Linked DNA regions of Homo sapiens: region 2 is linked to region 1. The links are contacts of gene promoters, found by promoter capture Hi-C in human tissues and cell types (Jung and others, 2019). All regions are on one chromosome and are shown on one strand. The core of a region is centred on a gene start or on the middle of the fragment in contact, and the rest is flanking DNA. Distances in the headings are between cores, read along the strand shown. Region 1 holds the start of KCNB1 (potassium voltage-gated channel subfamily B member 1). Region 2 overlaps SLC9A8 (solute carrier family 9 member A8).

Region 1 (3,373 bases), core at 170-2,669:
CGCCTGCAGCCCGGGCGAGTTGCCTGCCCGGCCGGGGTAGGCCCGGCTCAGCCCGGCCCCGGGACCGCCGCTGCCCACGGGCGGGGGCGCCCGGGCGGCCGGGACGATGCGCGGTCCCTGGCCCCAGGAGGCGGCCGCCCTGGGGGTGAGTGTTGGGGCGTACGGCCTTCCGTGGGGGTGCATGGGGACACGGACAGGGGGTTTGCCTGCCGCAGCTCGGCCTGTTGGTCTGCTCGGGCTCCGCAGCTCCAGGCTGGAGGGGAGCGGGGTGGGAGGCAGGCAAGGGCTGAGGCCTGAGGGGACGCGCAATCCCCATTCTGGGGCTAAGGCGTGAGCCCTACATGCAGGGGGTGCTCAGGGGAACCCCCCGAAATCACTAGTGCGCGGTAGGAGGATGGCACCTTTTGAAAAGGCCAGAAAATTTAGCTCATTTCCCCGCCTCCCACCTCCCCCACCCCTTCCCTTCCAAGCCCGGGGAAAGGCGCAGAACCCGGAGTTATAAAAAGCCATCGCGGGAGAGGAACGAGGAGGAGGAGTAGGAGGAGGAGGAGGAGGAGGAGGAAGAGGAGGAGGAGGGGGAGAAGGAAGAGGAGGGGGAGGAGAAGGAGGAGAAGGGGGCGGGGAAGGAGCGAGGGGAGGACGGAGCAGGCGGATCCCGAGGACTCTGCCCGCCCCTCCTGCGGTAGGGTTGGGGGCTCAGAGGGAGAGGCGAGAGCGGGCTTTTCCTCCTCGCGGCTCACCTTGTCGCTGGAGCAATCTCAGGAGATGCTCCAGTGTTTGGGAAGAGGGGTCGCTCCAGGACAGAGGGGCTGTTGTGCACACCCCGTCTGTTGTGACCTCGGACAGGTGGGCACCTGGAACCCCCGGAATTCCCCCAAATCTTTTAAGATTTGGAAAAAAGCCCGCTGCCATTCCCCCACCCCCAAAATCTTGATTATCTCGAGAAGGGGAAGGAAAAGAAGAGAACTCGTTAAAAAAAAAAAAAAGAAGGAAAGAAGAAGAAGAAAGAAAGAAAAAGATAAAGAAAGAAAGTTTTCATGCAGCTCCCCCTCTCTCCCCATGGCGGGGCCAGGTTCGGGACTCGATCGGGAGACCCATAATGAAGAGAGTTTCAGCACTCTAAGGGGCGGACAGCGCCCCGGGCGGCTGGGTCGCGCCTGGGCCGCAGAAGCCCAGGGTGGGGCCTCCCGGGCTCCAGGGGCATCTCTTGGGGCCCTCTCCCCGCCCCGAGGGGCGGCCCCTCCCTCCATCCATGGGGTGCGGCGGACTTCAGCACCGGCGGGAGGGACAGCGACCATCCGTCCTACCCCACTGAGCCGCTTAAGCGCGGGGGAAGGTCAAGGCCGGCTGGGAGCCTGGTGGAGAGGTGGGGGGCGGGGGGACAGCATGCCCAGCTCCCCGTTTGCTGACCCGCGTCCGCTTTCGCTTTCTGCCTCGCAGCCGTCGGGATGGAGGTGAGAAGACGGCCGTGACGCGCGCCCGCGGGGCCCCCTGCACCCCCAGCAGCCCACAGCGCTCCCTGCCCCCCTCCCCCGCAGCAGCGGGCCTTGCCGTCGAGTGACAGCGGCCTGGGGGGGCAGGGGGGGCGGGGGCGGCCGGATCAGCGATGCCGGCGGGCATGACGAAGCATGGCTCCCGCTCCACCAGCTCGCTGCCGCCCGAGCCCATGGAGATCGTGCGCAGCAAGGCGTGCTCTCGGCGGGTCCGCCTCAACGTCGGGGGGCTGGCGCACGAGGTACTCTGGCGTACCCTGGACCGCCTGCCCCGCACGCGGCTGGGCAAGCTCCGCGACTGCAACACGCACGACTCGCTGCTCGAGGTGTGCGATGACTACAGCCTCGACGACAACGAGTACTTCTTTGACCGCCACCCGGGCGCCTTCACCTCCATCCTCAACTTCTACCGCACTGGGCGACTGCACATGATGGAGGAGATGTGCGCGCTCAGCTTCAGCCAAGAGCTCGACTACTGGGGCATCGACGAGATCTACCTGGAGTCCTGCTGCCAGGCCCGCTACCACCAGAAGAAAGAGCAGATGAACGAGGAGCTCAAGCGTGAGGCCGAGACCCTACGGGAGCGGGAAGGCGAGGAGTTCGATAACACGTGCTGCGCAGAGAAGAGGAAAAAACTCTGGGACCTACTGGAGAAGCCCAATTCCTCTGTGGCTGCCAAGGTGAGTCTGGGATCTGGGGGCTGCTGGTCTGGGGGGATCTGCTTGCATCCCCATATTGAGGACCACTGCTGGAGGACTCTGGCTTTGTTCCCAACGATGAAGATTAGTAATGGGGAGGGGCTAGGACTGAGTCCCCAGAGGTGAGGACCAACCCCCTCAGACTTTTCCCATGTGGCACTGGTCACTCCATCTTTTTATTATCCAAGACGTTATACCCCTACTTGGTTGGAGAGGTTTCACAGGGACCCATAAAAAGCCACAGCAAGAAGATGGACACTGACGAATAAGAGAGAGAGCACAGAGAGACAACAGTGGCTTGCTGGGGTGGAGTAGGGTTTGCTTCCCTGTGAAGTCCCAGACCTAGGCTGGATTGGATCACCCTGTGATTTTAATATCTCCATATTTATAACCTCACTCTGCCCCAGCAAGGGAAAAAAGCAGCTTACAGACATGCTTACAGGACATTGAGATACTGTCAGATAGTTTAAACATAAGTAAGAAGGGACCCCGAGGGGTGGGTGTGGACCCACACGACACATGCAGTTGGTTGTGGATGCTTGCGGGTGAGGGGTCACCCCCTGGTTACTTATTTATTTGGTGAGTTTATTTCCAGAATGGTTTGGTGCAGCTTGTAAAGATGTTTCAGCTCTTGGAACAAGATGTAAATTTCAAAATAGGAGAGAAAAATGAGGCAATGTGAAAAATAAAGGAGGAGGAGGAGGAGGAGGCAGGAATGAGTTTGAACACAAAGAGTGGGCCAGAGAGTCTTTGGTGCTGCTGGGTAATGGCAGGGGCTGTAGGGGACTGAGGAAGGCTTGGGGTGGGAGCCAAGGCAGGGCAGGAGGGCACTGGTTGATCAGCAACTTCTCTACGTCAGGCTGGGATTTGGGGTTGCCTGGGAAAGATGGGGCCTGTCTTCATGTGCCCGAAGTGCTGGGTGCTGGGAGCAAATGACAAAACAGTGTGTGCAAGGCTATAAAAGAGGTTCTGTGAGGTTCACGGAGAACCCAGAAAAGAGAGATGTTGATGTTGAAATCCAGCAAGACCAACTTGGGAAACATGGGGAGAATGTAACTGAGTGTGGGGCCTAAAAAAAGGGGTCAGGTAAGTAGATTTGTGGTAAAAGAAAGAGGAGAGGAGGAAGCCTAAATATCCAGCCATATCTTACTAGCTAGGGCTGACTCCTGTCCAGCCCAGCCT
Region 2 (3,373 bases), core at 550-3,049, 350 kb before region 1:
TAATGTATCATCCTACTACTTGCTATTTTGTTCAACATTAAGTCTTAGAGATCTAGTCAGGGATTATTATGTATAGATTTGCTTCATTCCTTTTAACAGCTGGGCAGGATAGTATAAAAATGCCACACAGAACCGACCAGGCGTGGTGGCTCATGCCTGTAATCCCAGCACGTTAGGAGGCTGAAGCGGGCAGATGACCTGAGGTCAGGAGTTCGAGACCAGCCTGGCCAACACAGTGAAATACAGTCTCTACTAAAAAAATACAAAAATTAGCCGGGCATGGCGGGCGCCTCTAATCCTAGCTATTCAGGAGGCTGAGGCAGGAGAATCACTTGAACCCAGGAGGCAGAGGTTGCAGTGAGCTGAGATCATGCCACTGCACTCCAGCCTGGTGGACAGAGTGAGACTCCAACTCAAAATATTATATAAAATAAAATGAAAATAAAAATAATAAAAAAAATTGAATAGATATTTTGGAAAAGAAGATATACAAATGGCTGAGAAACACATGAAAAGATGTTCAACATCATAAATCATTAGGGAAATGCAAATAAAAACTACAATGAGATACCACTCCATACCTACTAGGATGGTTATGTAAACCAGAGTATCTGAGACAAGTCTCAGTCAAGTTAGGAAGTTTATTTTGCCAACATTAAGGATGACCACCCTTGACACAGCCTCAGGAGGTCCTGACGACATGTGCCCAAGGTGGTCGGGGCACAGCTTCGTTTTATACATTTTAGGGAGACATGAGACATCTATCAACAATGTAAGATGTACATTGGTTTGGTCTGGAAAGGTGGGACAACTAGAAGCAGGGAGGGGGCTTCCAGGTCACAGATAAATAAGAGACAAACAGTTTCATTCTTTTGAGTTTCTGATTAGCCTTTCCAAAGGAAGCAATCAGATATGCATTTATCTCAACAAAGAGAGGGGTGACTTTGAGTTCTGTCCTTTGTCCACAAGGAATTTTCTTGTGTACAAATTGAGAGGGAGGTATGTTAACTTTTTTATCTTAGTAGCTATCTTTTTAGAAATAGAATGGGAGGCAGGTTTGTCCTAAGCAGCTCCCAGATTGACCTTTCCCTTTAGCTTAGTGATTTTAGGGTCCCAAGATTTGTCTTCCTTTCACAGTTATAATTTTAAAGATGAGAAATAAGTGTTGGCAAGGATATAGAGAAATTGGAACACGCACTCATTGCTGATGGGAATGTAAAATGGGGCAACCACCATGGAAAACAGTTTGGCAATTCCTCAAAAGTTACCTTATGACCCAGCAATTCTACTCAAAGAAACTGAAAACATGTTCATGTAAAAACCTGTACACAGATATTCCTAACAGCAGTATTTCAAACAGTCACAGGGTGGAAAGAGGCCAGGTGTGGTGGCTCACACCTGTAATCCCAGCACTTTGGGAGGCGCAGGTGGGTGGACTGCTTGAGGTCAGTTCAAGACCAGCCTGAACAACATGGTGAAACCCCGTCTCTACTAAAAATACAAAAATTATCTGCGCATGGTGGTATGCACCTGCAGTCCCAGCTACTTGGGAGAGGCAGGAGAATCGCTGGAACCTGGGAGGCGGCGGTTGCAGTAGGCCGAGATTGCGCCACTGCACTCCGGCCTGGGTGACAAAGTTAGACTCCATTTCAAAAAAAAAGTGGGAAGAACCCAAATGTCTATCAACTAATGAGTGAGTAAACAAAATGTGGTATATCCATACAATGTAATATTATTCAGCAATGAAAAGGAATGAAGTACTGGTACCTGCCAGAACATGGAAGAATCTTGAAAATACACCAAGTGAAAGAAGCCAGACACAAAAGACCATATATTTTACCATTCCATTTATATGAAATGTCCACAATAGACAAATCTACAGGGACAGTAATGGTTGCCCAGGGACAGGGAGGAGAGCTAAAGGGCATGTGGTTTCTTTTTGAGGTGATAAAAATGTCCTAAAATTGACTGTGGTGATGGCTGCACGACTCTGAACATACTAAAAATTGTTGTACATTTAAAATGGGTGAATTGGCTGGGCATGGTGGCTCATGCCTGTAATCCCAGCACTTTGGGAGGCTGAGGTCAGGAGTTCAAGACCAGCCTGGTCAACATAGTGAAACCCCGTCTCTACTAAAAATACAAAAAAAGCAGTTGGGCGTGATGGCGGGCACCTGTAATTACAGCTACTGGGGAGGCTGAGGCAGGAAAATCGCTTGAACCCAGGAGGCGGAGGTTGCAGTAAGCTGAGATTGTAGCACTGCACTCCAGCCTGGGTGATAGAGCAAGACTCCATCTCAAAAAAAAAAAAAAAAAAAAAAAAGTGAATTGTGTGGCATACAAAGTACATCTCAATAAAGCTGTTGCCAAATAAAAAGTACCACCGATTGTATGATTCTATTTCTTTATACGAAATGTCCAGGACAGGCAAATTCACAGACAGAAAGTAGATTGGTGGTTTCCAGGGGATGGGAGAAGGGAGAAATGTGGAAATGGGGAGTGACTGCTAATGGGTATGAGTTTCTTTTTGGGGTAATGAAAATGTTCTGGAATTAGGTAGAGGTGATGGTAGTACAACTCTGTGAATATACTAAAAAACTCTGAATTGTGCACTTTAAGATGGTGAAATTTATGATATGTGAATTATATTGTACCTTTTTTTTAAAATCACAACCTTTTGAACCATTGCCCCACTGATGGTTGCCTCCAGCTGTTTGCTATTAACAGTGGTGCTGCATTGAACATGCTTGTACATGCCACTCTGTGTTAAGAGTATCTCCCTGTGGAAGACATTCACAAAAAAAAAAACAAACCCAGACTATCTCCCTAGGGCAGATCCAGAGACTACAAATGGCAGGTTTACAAAGCATAAGCATTTTTAACTCTGAAAATATTGCCAAATTATCCTCCAAAGTGGTTGTACCGACTTACACTTCCACAAGAAAGCGTCCCACATCCTCAGTCGCGCTGGATAATCATCAGATGTTAACATTTCTGCCAACATAGTGGGCAAGAAATTGTACTTTAATGTTTCAATTTGTATTTGATTCAATTTGCATTCAGCAATCATCCTGATTACTAGGGAAGTTAAACCTCTTTCCATGGTTTCAGGCTTCATTTTTAAAGCTTAGTGTTTTTCTGCTTTACTAAAACCTCAACTTTCTTTTTCCCTTCTAAATGTATACCAAACCTTAATGCCATGATTACCTCGTTTATAATCACACATGAAGCAGTTACATTTGAAAATCAGTAATTATTCTATTGCCCAAGCCTGCGTCTTTTTATTATTTATGATGTACTAGGAAGCGCTGTAAAATACAATGTGATATTATTGTTATTATTACTTAAATAATCCTTTGTGCAGCATTAAATT

The links. The method cuts DNA at HindIII sites, captures the fragments that hold promoters and counts their contacts. A contact is called where the count stands out against the background at its distance.
Region 2: a fragment that was not itself captured here is called in contact with the fragment with the promoter of KCNB1 in region 1 in 1 of the 25 tissues and cell types used here (stomach).

The regions. Positions count from the first base shown.
Region 1 is chr20:49,480,714-49,484,086 of GRCh38, reverse strand. It overlaps KCNB1 (potassium voltage-gated channel subfamily B member 1), which reads left to right and starts at 1,419. Exons shown (of 2, transcript NM_004975.4): 1 at 1,419-2,173. The coding sequence starts at 1,607. The HindIII fragment of the contact is 16,129 bases long and covers 1-3,373 here.
Region 2 is chr20:49,834,630-49,838,002 of GRCh38, reverse strand. All of the region lies in intron 3 of SLC9A8 (solute carrier family 9 member A8), which reads right to left. Among named protein-coding and RNA genes, the nearest start is that of SLC9A8, 23 kb to the right of the region's middle. RefSeq lists enhancers at 931-1,431, 1,432-1,932. The HindIII fragment of the contact is 7,659 bases long and covers 1-3,373 here.